Linked DNA regions of Homo sapiens: regions 1, 2 and 4 are each linked to region 3. Evidence: promoter capture Hi-C in human tissues and cell types (Jung and others, 2019). All regions are on one chromosome and are shown on one strand. Each heading gives the region's core, a stretch centred on a gene start or on the middle of the fragment in contact. The rest is flanking DNA. Distances are from core to core; before and after follow the strand shown. Region 1 has its middle 14 kb from the start of DDX56. Region 2 has its middle 4.2 kb from the start of NUDCD3. Region 3 holds the start of CAMK2B (calcium/calmodulin dependent protein kinase II beta). Region 4 overlaps NUDCD3 (NudC domain containing 3).

Region 1 (3,081 bases), core at 453-2,952, 230 kb after region 3:
TGGCTAATTTTTTTAATTTTTATTTTTAGAGATGGCATTTCACTGTGTTGCCCAGGCTGGTCTTGAACTCCTGGCCTCAAGTGATCCTCACTCTTCAGCCTCCTGAATTGCTGGGATTATAAGTGAGGGCCACCATGCCTGACTTTAGCACCACTTATCTTGACACATGAAAAAGATAAACCATTCTGTTCCCACTGTTCCTGCCATCTGGTGGTCTCTTACTTGCAGCTGTATACACTCCTAACTGATGTACCTGTAATTCCCTGCTGTCCACCACCTGACTATTAGCACCCCTTCTCCTACTGTTGCCCCACAGCAGAGTCCTCAACCTCAACACTACGGACATTTTCAACCACAGAACTCTCTTGTGGGGGCTGCCTTGTACATTGCATGATTTTAACAGTATCCCCGGCCTCTTCCCACCTAAAGCCAGTAGCATCCATTGCCCAGATATGATAACCTAAAATGTTTCTTGGCTGGCACAGTGGCTCACACCTGTAATCCCAGCACTTTGGGAGGCTGAGGCGGGCAGATCACTTGAGGTTAGGAGTTCATGACCAGCCTGGCCAACATGGTGAAACCCCATCTCCTAAAAATACAAAGATTAGCTGGGTGTGGTGGCACATGCCTGTAGTCCCAACTACTTGGCAGGCTGAGGCAGGAGAATCACTTGAACCCGGGAGGTGGATGGAGGTTGTAGTGAGCCAAGAACACACCACTGCACTCCAGCCTGGGCAACGGAGCAAGACTCTGTCTCAAAAAAAAAAAAACAACAATATTTCTATACTTTCCCAAAAGCCCCACTGGGGCAAATCTGGCCAAGAACCACCACCCTGCAGGAAGCCTGTGCTAAGCCAACTAATCTGCTCCCTCCACCCAGCTCTGCTATAACCAAGCCAAGCCTGTCTCTCAGGCTTCTCCGGGCCTTCCCAACGCCTGCGCATACAATCTCCTTGGCAGTGAGGATTTCTACCACCACCCAGGCCTGAGTGGTCTCTCCCTCCTCTGGCCATGATAGCAGGGGTTGGCTGTCTCCCTTGGCACTTGGCCTAACCATCACTGCATTCATGCATTTTGCTTCTAAAAGCTGAGGTCCTGGTTCCCGGGGCGGGGGCCATACCTCCTACACCAAGAATCCTTGAACCTATAGGGGTCCAATTTGTACATTTCGGTGATTGTATTAGGTACTTCGCTTCACGAATACAGCTGCAGTCAGGACCCGTTGCTGTCAAAGCCATAGACTCAGGACTGTGTGACCCTCCATCTCCCCACTGCTGGAACAGCCACAAGCAGTTCAGGAGCCTGGTCCCCCAGCCCACTGCTGAGGAGAAGGGCGTGTTGGTCCATGGAGGGGATGAGGCAGGCTGAATCTATAAAGGGTCGGGGGGTCCCAAGTACTTCCTGAGGGCTCCCTGAATGGGAGGATGGGCAGCTCTGCCCTGACTGTTGCTCCCAGCATCCCAGCTGCAGGTTCTGATGGAAGAGGGTCTTAGCCTGGGCAGGGCTAAGATGGTGAAGCCAGACCACTAGCAGGGGTAGCCACCAGAAATGGAGATCACATGTCAAGGCTGAGGGGAGGCAAGGTCTGGGGACTGGCCCTACATGCTTACTCTCTACTGTACAAGCATCAGTTGCTTCTCACATTCGTCCCAGCCCTGCAAGCTGATGGGTAGCCTTCATCCTGGACCCTTTGTCTTCTGTGATGGTCCCCCTCAACACAAAACTGCATTTTCTAACCTTGAACCAACAAGTTGTACAGTGAGCTGTGGGGAACAAAAGGGGCCATGAGAGGGGCCTGAAGCAGGGTCTCCCAGATGGGAGCAGGCATGGGCCCCTGCCTACTACGCCTGATACCCCTGGCCTTGACAAACATGAGACCCGTGGAGGACGAGGATGAGGGCTTCCTGTCTGAGCCCTGAGTCATGGAGGTGACACAGAGGGAGGGTCCTGCCTGCTGCACGGGGGGCACAGAGTCCAGCTCCATGCGGTGCTATTCCTACCACATCCTTCCCTCTGCTTTTAACTGGAATTAGTCCTCAAGAGCCTCAGGCAGTAGAAAGGTTGTGAAAAGAGAATTACCTCCGGGGCATTAAGGATACTCTCAGGGAAAAGCTTTTAATGAACCACTGGACTCAGGAACACACAGATATGCAACTTGGCATGGTCCTTGCCTCCGAAGAGCTCCCACATCAAGGTGGGGACAGGCCCCAGCAATTAGAGCTTCATGAGGTCAGAGCAGCATCAGACACACAGAGGAGGATGCCCAGCCCAGGCTGGCGCTCAGGAAGACTTCCTGGAGGAGGCCACGCGTGGGTCAGAGAGGTCTCACAACCTAGGGTTGCACATTTAGCAAATAAAAAGCAGGATGCCCAGCTATACTGGAATTTCAGAGAAACAGTGAATATCTGTTTTAGCATATGTCCCAAATATTGGACAGGACACGGTTATGCTGTAAAATTCCTCATTATTTGAAATTCCAATCTAGCTAGACATCTCCTACTTTACCTGGCCTCCCACGTCACCATGACTTTCGGATTAAGTGTTGGGCTCAGAGAAGGGATGTGACAGGGAAGTTTCATATCCAGGACTTGAACCTAGGTATCCCACCTCCAATTCCAGACTAGAGTCTGACAGACACAGCACCTCCCCTCTACCACTTAGCCAAGTGACATTGGGCTGGCTAGTTAATCTAAGCTTTTGCCAATCTGCAAAATAAATGTGTGTGGTGGATATTAAAGCCTTGCCTCTCAAATGTGGACTAGAGACCAGCACCTTTGGGCTCACCTGGGACGGAGGTGAGAACTCAAATGCAGAACCCCAGGCTGTGCCCTAGACGTATTCTCGTGGAAGTATGGAGACACGTCCCAGAAGGCAATGGTGGATTCAACAGGCATTGGGAGGTGCTAGCACAGAGCTGGGCTGCAACAGGCGTGCCAGGTGCCTGAGCCACTTCGGCCCCTACAGGAACCCTTGGAGGGGACATTTTACCCCCACTTACAGGTGAGAACCTAGAGAAGGCCAAGAAAAGTGACATGCCTTCCCTGTATGAGACCATACAGTCAGAAAGTGGCCATCATGGTC
Region 2 (3,233 bases), core at 652-3,151, 170 kb after region 3:
ATGCTCTGTGACTTGTTCAATTGGCAACTCAATCACACAAGTGCTTTGCATCAGTGCAACCATTTTGCTTCAGTATGAGGCAGACATGTCTTATGTGTACTTCTCTTTTAATCATGCACTATTAAAAAGACTTGTTCTCAAGTGGAGAACTTTTAATAAAACAACTTTTAATAAAATTAATAATTAAATGCTATCAGGAGCATTCTTAAGTGAAACTGAACATTTTTAACCTGTAAGTGTAAGGCAGTGCATACTAGTCGAGTTTGGTGCCGTTATGGACTGAATGTGCCTGCCCCCCACCAGATTCATATGTTGAAGCCCCAGTCCTCAATGGGACTATATTTGGAGTCACATTGGTGGTTAGAAGGGCCTTTAAAAGATACTTAAAGGTTAAATGAGGTTATAAGGGTGGGACCTTAACCCAATGGAACTGGTATCCTCATAAGAGGAGAAGGAGACACTAGAGATCTCACTCTGCACACATGCAGAAGAAAGGCCATGTGAGGACACAGTGAGATTGCTTCAAGCTAGGAAGAGAATTCTCACCAGATACCAACACCTTGGTCTTGGATTTCTGGCCTCCAAGACTGTGAGAGAATAAACATGTGTTGTTTAAGCCACCCAGTCTATGGTACTTTGTGACAGCAGGAAGCTAGGACAATGGCCTGCCTTGATTCCTGCTGAGACACTTGCAGTTTTACCTGCCATTGCTTTTGCACCATCATTGCAAATGTCAACATGGTAAAAAAGCAAATAACATCATAGTATTGTTATTTTTACCTTGGAGGCCCCCCAGGGCCACATACTACACTCTGAGAATCACTGCCCTAGAGAATTAATGAATCTCGGGTGAGCCTGTTATATAATTCCTCAGTATAACTGGAAGCACATGCAGTCATCTTCTTGCTATATTCAAAGTTTTGAATAATTTTCTTTAGCACCTAAAGGAAGAAATGGAACAGACGCTGCATCTGGAGAAGGGAAATTGAGGGAAACACTATAAAACAGGAGAAAAACTTACTTTTGTATTTGATACCATATACATGCATTACCTATTCAAAAAGTAAATAAAATATCTTTTTTTTTTTTTTGAAACAGAGTCTCGCTCTGTCGCCCAGGCTGGGGTGTAGTGGCACAGTCTCAGCTCGGCTCACTGCAAGCTCCGCCTCCTGGGTTCACGCCATTCTCCCGCCTCAGCCTCCCGAGTAGCTGGGACTACAGGTGCCCGCCACCACACCCGGCTAATTTTTTGAATTTTTAGTAGAGACGGGGTTTCACCATTCACAGGATGGTCTCGATCTCCTGACCTTGTGATCCACCCGCCTCAGCCTCCCAAAGTGCTGGGATTACAGGCGTGAGCCACCGTGCCCGGCCAAAATATCTTTTAAATTGAATGGAAAGCTAAACATAATGTCATAACACAGTCCAGCAATCATGCTCTTATGTATTTACCCAGCTTATTTGAAAACTATGTCCATACAGAAATCTACATGCAAATGTTTATTGCAGCTTTACTCAAAATTGCCAAAAATGGGAAGCAACCAGGTGCCGTCAACAGGTACTGGATAAACGAAAGGTAGTACATTCATAGAATGAAGTACTGTTTTCAGCAGTAAGAAGGAATAAGCTGTCAATCAATAAAAAGATATGGCTTAATCTTAAATGCGTATTGCTAAGAGATAGAAACCACTCAAAAAATGCTACCACCCAATTATATGACATTCTGAAAAATGCAAAATGTAGAAACAGTAAAAGATCAGTGGTTGTCAGGGTCTGCGTGTGAAAAAAAGGTTGAATGATGCACAGGGAATTTTTTAGGATGTAAAATTATTCTATATGATAGTAATTACTATCATAGAATAATGATAGTAATAATTATTAATAGTAATAATTATTAATAGTAATTATTAGTAATAATAGCAATAATTAGTAATTAGTAATTAATAGTAATAATTAGTAATTAATAGTAATAATTATTAATAATAATAATTAGTAGTAATAATGATAGATACGTGACACTACACATTTGTCAAAACCCATAGAAATTTATAGCACCAAGAGTAAACCTTAATATAGGCAGTCTTTTAAAAAATCACTTAGGAGATTGGGGGATCCCAGAATGGGTTGCAGAATGTGACAAAACAATCTAACTGTGTCACAGATGTATGAAACAACCTCACTGAAGGGATGATAGAAAGAGATGCTGTCCTAAGTAACTTTGGAAATGAGCAGAGTCTGTAAGACTAAAGACAAAAGGAACTGTATATAAACACTGAAATCTAGTTGATACAATTATTCCTAACAGGGGTATGGGTTATCAATTCTGAAACCGCTAGATATGTATAGTGGAAATGAGCAATTAAGTAAATGGTGGAGGGTGGTGGGATCCAGGTTTCTCACTGGTGGAGTGAGAGAGTTATAAATAAGCGGGGAAGGAGGCTAGAATGATCCATGTGGTAATAGATCAGAGTTAGAAATTCATCCTTATAGATACAGATGGCTATGTGTAGAACTGTTTACAGAAATGTGTATATATGCAGGTGAGTGTACATACATGTATTTACTTGCTCTCAGCTGAGAAGGTCTAGAAGCAACAATGCTTCAGTAACAACGAGCATACCTTCCACCCAGATCTTGGTTTCTGATATTCTCCAATAGAAGGAACCAGGGCTTCTTGGAGAAATGGCTGATTCTAGGACTGGCACAGAAAATATACAAGATGCGCCTGGAGCATCTTGTGGGTGGTGTCTCAAAGTAAAGGAAGTGCAAAGAAAAAAAAAACCACACAATGATGGGGGTATGACAAAGGAAAGCGCTTCCAATGGCCAAAGCTGGAACAATTTGAGCAGCAAAATAAGGTATTATTATATTAGAACCCAAAATATAAAACAAATACCTGTGAGTCCATACCGATATACATATAAATATATTGATATATACATACCTATATGATATATAGAGATATTTCTCATACTGAATAAAGAAATGGAAGAAAATAGACACATTTTCTGTTCAGAAGAATTCCCAGTTATTTATGTAGCTAGTCTGCCCTCAAGGAGGTGGAGCATGACTCCCTACTTCTTATGTCTAGGATACATGTAGTGACTCTTCCTAATGGTAGAGCGTGGAAAGGGGAGAAACCTGACGAGGATGACCTCAGCCAGGTGATCGAGGTCAACATCAACAATGATAAGTCATGTTTGATAGTATACACCTTTAATATGCTATGAATG
Region 3 (3,049 bases), core at 434-2,933:
CAGGGATCCGCATGAAGGGGGCTGGGCTCGCCCTCTCCCTCGAGGTCTCAGCCCTGTGGTGCTCTCCAGATCCACCCAAGGAAGGGTCCCCCAGCCAGCCTGGCCCCCCACCCCACCCATCCAGCATGGGCTTCTTGCAGGGCTGGGCTCCACATCCCTAACCCCTACCAGAATTCTCTCCACACGTGCAGGGAGAAGTGGGGAATGAACACACCCCCACACTCCTCCAGCTCCGCACTCCACAATTATCAATGATCAGCGTCCCTCACCCACCACAAGGTTTCACCAGACACTTATTTAGTAAAGGAAAAAAAGGATCTGTTGCTGGATGTGTAAGAGGAAATCTCGCCAGCACCGCCAGCGCCCCCACCGCCTGCACTGAAGGGACGGAGGAGGATGGGGGAGGACGCAGGAGGATGGGGCTCTGGCCCAGTCAGGCTGGAGATTCAGGAGTTCTGAAGCTAGCCCTAGGGATGCCAGGTGCAGCCACCTTGATTCTCAGAACGGGAGACCCCAGGCCAGACAGGAGGCCCCTGAGGCGCTCCCCATCTCACCCCAGGGGCAAAGCCGGGTCCGGGGACCACGAACCAGACCTTCGCCCTACACTGCTCATACTGCCAAGGAGAGAACGGGAGCCACAGCACCTGTTCCCCGTGAGGTCCCACTTCAAACAAACCTTCAAAGCCCCTTCCCCTTTAGGGCGCCCCCGCCAACAGTCCAAAATCCAGCCCCCATCCACCTCGATGACCCTGAAATTTGCAATCCAGTCAGGCTCTTAGTCTCTCCCCGCTATCCCCATGACCTGATCCAGGCTCCCTGACCTCGTCCTCCCCACACCTCCAAATTCCTGTTTCCAGAAGAATCTGGGGGAAAATCCTCCAGAACCCAGATTCCCCAGGGGACCTACAGCAGAGGCTCTCCCACGCCGGCACCCCCAGCGCGGATGGGGCCACGCGCAGGAGCAGGCGCAAGCAGGTCCCGCCACCCCCGCCGCCTGCCGCTCGGGTGGGGGTGGGGACAGCGCACCCGCGTCGGGGACGACCCTCTGGGGCCGCAGCCGACCCCTCCCGGCGCTCCAGGCCCGGGGGCCACCCCCGCGCGCCCCTCCTCTCTGACCTCCCCGCCGCCAAATGCGTCACGTCTGCCGGGCGCTCCGGGGACACCTGCTGCCGCCCCCGCCGCGCCAAGTCGCGAGCCCGGAGCCCCGGCCCGGCAGCCGCGCTGGGCAGAGCTGGGCAGGGCCGCGCGCGCTGAGGTCAGGCAGCCAGGCCCGGGGCCGGGGGCTCGCGGGTCGGGGCCGCGCGGGGCCGTGCGCTTGGGCCCGGAGCCCAGAGAAGCCGGCGGCGCGCGGGCCCGCAGTGCGCCTGGAGCCGGCGGCGCGGAGGGTCCCGGAGGTCCCGGCCCTCTGGGGTCCCCGGCCCAGCCCGCGCGCGCCGCTGCTCTTACTTGCCAATATCCTCGTAGAGCTGGTACTCGTCGGTGAAGCGGGTGCAGGTCACCGTGGTGGCCATGGCGGCGGCGGACGGGCTCGGCGTGCGCTCGGCTGCGCTCGGGCGGCGGCGACTCCGGCTCCCGCTCGCGGGCACGGCGGCGACACGGGCGCGGGCGCGGGAGACACCTCGGCTCGCGGCGCCAGGCGGGGGCCGGGCTGGGCTGCGCCGGGCGGCGAGCGCACGCGAGATCTGCTCGCTCCGTCCTCGCCAGGAGCGCGCCGCACACCTACGCGCGGGGAGGCGCGGGCGCCGCTGTCACCGCCGCCGCCGCCGCGCCCGCCCCGCCCGCCGCCCCCTGCACGCGCCTTCCCCGCGCCCTGCACACGCTGCTCCTGCACCCGCACCCGCAGGGCACCGGCGCCCTGCATCTGCACACGCGCCCTGCACACACACCCTTGCCCCGCACCCGCAACGCACCTGCACCTGCACCTGCACTCACACGCGCGCCCGCCCCCGCCCGCCCCCGCACCCCACACACACACCCGCGCCCTGTACTGACGCCTTCATCCTCTACCCGCACCACGCCCGCACCTCGCGCACGCAGGCCACTTGCTGCTGCCGACCCCTCGCTCTCACATAACACAGAAGAGTGCACATAATGAACGCAGCCTCCTCTCTCTCTCTCGAAGGCCCACCTAGCCTGACAGCAGGAGGGGACTGGGGCCCACATGGAGGTAGAGGGCTCATGTGCTGCCCTCCACAGGACTCATTCCTCACACCCTCAGGAAGAGATGCTGCCAGATCCCTTCTGCCCAGTCTCCATCAGCCACACATGCCCCAAAGGCTGCCTGGCCAGGAGGAACCGCCCAGAAGGCAGTGTACACACTGGGTCACTAGCATGAGAAAGTGAAAGGGTGGGGCCTGCCCCCTCCCCTTGGCCCCAGCCCCTCCCTTCCCCCTCACTTCTCCAAAGACTGGTTGCTGGGTTGTCTGGAATGGAGGTCCCAGGAGGCAACATTCGGAGTCCAGACCAACGGACCCTGAGCCAGGGGAACAGGGGCTGCTCCACCAGCAATTTGGGGGGCCTGAGAGCTCACAGCCACCCTGATCAGGTAAAGGTGCACATTCTCTCCTTTTCCAGCACGGTCCACCTGCCTGCCCCCTGCTTTTGCCTGGAGGAGGAGGGCCCACACACCCCAACCCCCTCCTGAAAGCAGCCAAGGAGGAGGAGAGTGCAGGGAGGCAGGCAGGAGGCAGGGCGACCCGGTTTCCCACAAAACAGCCTTCCCTGAGGCCTGGCACCAGGGCTGCTGTCCAGAACCGGGACTTTAGACCACTGGGCTCCAGCATCCCCACACTCTTCTCTGACGGGGTCCATCCTGGGCAGGCTCTGAGGAGGGGGTTTCCAGCAGCCAGCTCTGGATTTGGGTCACGCTGCTGCCCTGATATGACTTCCTTACTGCTCCCCAAGGACCAATTCTGGGCCTATCCTGCTCATCCCTCTCACCTCGTGGCCAGCCCAGGGCAAGCCCCAGAAGCCACAATAAATGTCATGTGGATAAGGGAGGGGATAAAGGCATTCTGAGTGCTGGCAGCCAGGGCCCTTCTGGGCCAGG
Region 4 (3,313 bases), core at 362-2,861, 130 kb after region 3:
AAAAAAAAACCTAAAATTCACATGTCCCAATAATCTCTCAATCCCAGGCAAATCAAGGAAGTTGGTGACCCCTGATGAGGTCTCAAAAACTTTCTGTGTCATGGTCACTTTCTAGCGAGGTTACTAGAGGATTCTGTCAACTGAATCATGAGATTTAACAAAAAGTAAGGACTGTAGCTCACATCATCCTCAATGGTGAAACACTAGACATTTTCCCCGATGAATGGAATAAGACAAGGGTGCCTACTCTCACTATTTCTATTCAACTTTGTACTAGAAGTTCTAGCCAGGGGAGTTAAGCAAGAAAATAAATAGTATCCAGATGAGAAGAAAAAAGTAAAATTATCTGTTTGCAAATGAAAAGATCTTGTATATAGAAAATCCTAAGGAATCCACTAAAAACTATGCATTAATAAACAAATTTAGCAAAGCTGCAGGTTACAAGATCACTATACAAAAATCTATTGTATTCCTATAAACTAGCAATGAACAATCTGAAAATGAAATTAAGAAATATTCCATCTACAATAGACTCAAAAAAGAATAAAATACTTAGGAATACATGTTTTAAACTACGAAACTAATGGGAAAACATATTTGTAAATTATATATGTAATACAGGACTTGTATGTAGACTACATAAAGATGGTTAAAGAGTTTGAATAGTTATTTCTCCAAAGATATACAAATAGCCAATAACGCACATGAAAAAATACACATTTTTAGTTACTAGAAAATGCACATGGAAACTACAATGAGATCCCACTTCATGCCCACTAGAATAGCCACAATCAAAAAAAATAGATAAGTTTTGGCAAGGATGTGAAGGAATTGGAATCCCCATAGATTGCTGGTGTACAATGGTGGAACTGCTTTGGAAAACAGCCTGGCACTTCCTCAAAAGGTTAAACATACAGTTTAACAGGACCCAGCATTTATACTCCTAGGTATATACCTAAGACAAATGAACATATATGTCTACACAAAAGCTTGTATACAAATGTTCATAGCACTATTCCTCATAATAGCAATCCAACTGTCCACCAACCGATGAATAAACAAAATGAAGTATGTCCATACAATAAAATATTATTCTGTCAGTAAAAGGAATGAAGTACTGATAAATGCTACAACATGGATGAATCCTGAAAACACTCCATTAAGTGAGAAAAGCCAGACACAAAGGCCACATAATGTATTATTCCATTTATATGAAATGTCAGAATTGGCAAATCTACAAAGGCAAAGTAGACTGGTAATTGCCTAGGGCTGGGAGGTTTGAGAGAAAATGAGGAGTGAATGCTAATGCATACAAAGTTCTTTTTCAGGTAATAAAAATGTTCTGGGGCCAGACATGGTGGCTCACACCTGTAAACTCAGCACTTTGGGAGGCTGAGGCAGGTGGATCACCTGAGGTCAGAAGTTTGTGACTAGCCTGACCAACATGGTGAAACCCCGTCTCTATTAAATACAAAAAATTAGCCAGGCATGGTGAGCATGCCTGTAATTCCAGCTACTTGGGAGGCTGAGGCAGGAGAATCACTTGAACCTGGGAGGCGGAGGTTGCAGTGAGCTGAGATTGTGAAATTGCACTCCAGCCTGCGCAACAAGAGCGAAACTCTGTCTCGGGGGAAAAAAAAAGTTCTGGAATTAGATAATAGTGGTAGTTATACAACCTTGTAAATATGTGAAAAGCACTGAATTGTACATGTTAAAGTACAAATTTTAAGATACGTGAACTATATCTCAAGTTTTTAAAACCGTACATGTGTCTGGTATGGTGTGCCATGTGCACTTGGTGTGATGTGTGTGCATGCATACAAGCATGTGTATGAGCCTGGAGAAAGGTGTGCAAGGACACATCTCAGTATACTGACACTGGCTGCAGGATTAGACGGGGAGTGCTGTGTGTGTGTGTGTGTGTGTGTGTGTGTGTGTGTGTGTGTGTGGTGATGTGTATGCATACATACAAGCATGTGTATGAGCCTGGAGAAAGGTGTGCAAGGACATCTCACAGTATATTGACAATGGCTGCAGGATTATAAAGAAGAAATTCCTTTCAACAATGTTGTGTTGTTTTGGGAGTATTATTAGTTTTGGAGTTTTAAAAATTTATTCCTAAGTATTTTTTTATATATATTCTATTGTAGATGGATTTTTCTTAATTTTTTCTTTTTTTTTTTTTTGAGACAGGGCCTCACTTGGTTGCCCAGGCTGAGTGCAGTGGCACGATCATGGCCCACTGTAGCCTTGACCTACAGGGCTCAAGCAATTCTCCCATCTCGGCCCCCTGAATAGCTGGGACTATAGGCATGCACCACCATGCCTGGCTAATTTTTCAAGACGGGATCTCACTATGTTGCCCAGGCTGGTCTGGAACTCCTGGGCTCATGCAATCCTTCTGCCTCGGCCTCTTGAAGTGTTGGGATTACAGGAATAAGCCACCATGCCTAGACCTGTGGTCATGTATTTTCTAATATTATAATTGTCTAATAAAGAACTAGCAAATATAATTGTTTTAATCAGAAGAAAATTGAACAAGGTAATAATAGTGATAGAACTGGATAATTCTATTTTCCAAATTTTCCAAATTACTTTTGTAATTAATTAAACAACTGCTTTCCTAACTGTCACACATCTATAACATATGGTGGAGAAGAAGATACCATTGCTAAAAGCAACACAAACATTAACTGTATGGCTACTAATGGATCTGAGGACACATGAGATTTGTATATAATTCTTGAGGGCAACTTTCTGTAACTGAATTTAATGACAGAAAAAAGGAAGCCACCAACAATAGAATGATATGCTTCCTTTTAACAGGAAAATTTAACGAGAACAAAACTGATCATACTCTTCAAGTTAATATGGAGTTTTAACATAATATCAATTAAAGTCCCCAAGTGGTATAATACAAAACTTGATCAAGTCACAGTGGAATTCATTTTAAAGAAATCAAACAATATTAAAGAACAGTCTTGAGCCCTTTAGTAGACAATGGAATGGTATATTTAGCCTACAACATTAAAGCAGAGAGAAATTTCTAAAATCTAACATAAAGAAAATCACTGAAGGCAGTATCGATGTGGTAAAATCCCCACACTAAATTCAGTGAATCAACTGATAGAAGAAAAGCAGTGAATAAGAAAATGTGAGGATTTGTAAAACTACAGAAGGATAATATCCAGACTCCCATCAATGAGTAAGTGGAGTTAATGAGTTAACAAAGTAGGAAATAACAACAGTAAATCACTGTGTAGAAAATGTAATCTTTCTATAAATAAAGAAATGCAAAGTAAACTATAAGCTA

The links. Contacts are between HindIII fragments. The study calls those that stand out against the background at their distance.
Region 1: a fragment that was not itself captured here is called in contact with the fragment with the promoter of CAMK2B in region 3 in 2 of the 25 tissues and cell types used here (H1 embryonic stem cells and dorsolateral prefrontal cortex).
Region 2: a contact is called between a fragment that was not itself captured here and the fragment with the promoter of CAMK2B in region 3, in 1 of the 25 tissues and cell types used here (dorsolateral prefrontal cortex).
Region 4: a contact is called between a fragment that was not itself captured here and the fragment with the promoter of CAMK2B in region 3, in 2 of the 25 tissues and cell types used here (dorsolateral prefrontal cortex and spleen).

The regions. Positions count from the first base shown.
Region 1 is chr7:44,558,787-44,561,867 of GRCh38, forward strand. No RefSeq gene overlaps it. Among named protein-coding and RNA genes, the nearest start is that of DDX56, 14 kb to the right of the region's middle. RefSeq lists an enhancer at 2,571-3,081. The HindIII fragment of the contact is 3,931 bases long and covers 1-3,081 here.
Region 2 is chr7:44,493,225-44,496,457 of GRCh38, forward strand. No RefSeq gene overlaps it. Among named protein-coding and RNA genes, the nearest start is that of NUDCD3, 4.2 kb to the left of the region's middle. The HindIII fragment of the contact is 7,594 bases long and covers 1-3,233 here.
Region 3 is chr7:44,323,911-44,326,959 of GRCh38, forward strand. CAMK2B (calcium/calmodulin dependent protein kinase II beta) reads right to left here and starts at 1,684. Exons shown (of 24, transcript NM_001220.5): 1 at 1,447-1,684. The coding sequence starts at 1,511. The HindIII fragment of the contact is 12,993 bases long and covers 1-3,049 here.
Region 4 is chr7:44,457,032-44,460,344 of GRCh38, forward strand. All of the region lies in intron 2 of NUDCD3 (NudC domain containing 3), which reads right to left. Among named protein-coding and RNA genes, the nearest start is that of NUDCD3, 32 kb to the right of the region's middle. The HindIII fragment of the contact is 5,507 bases long and covers 1-3,313 here.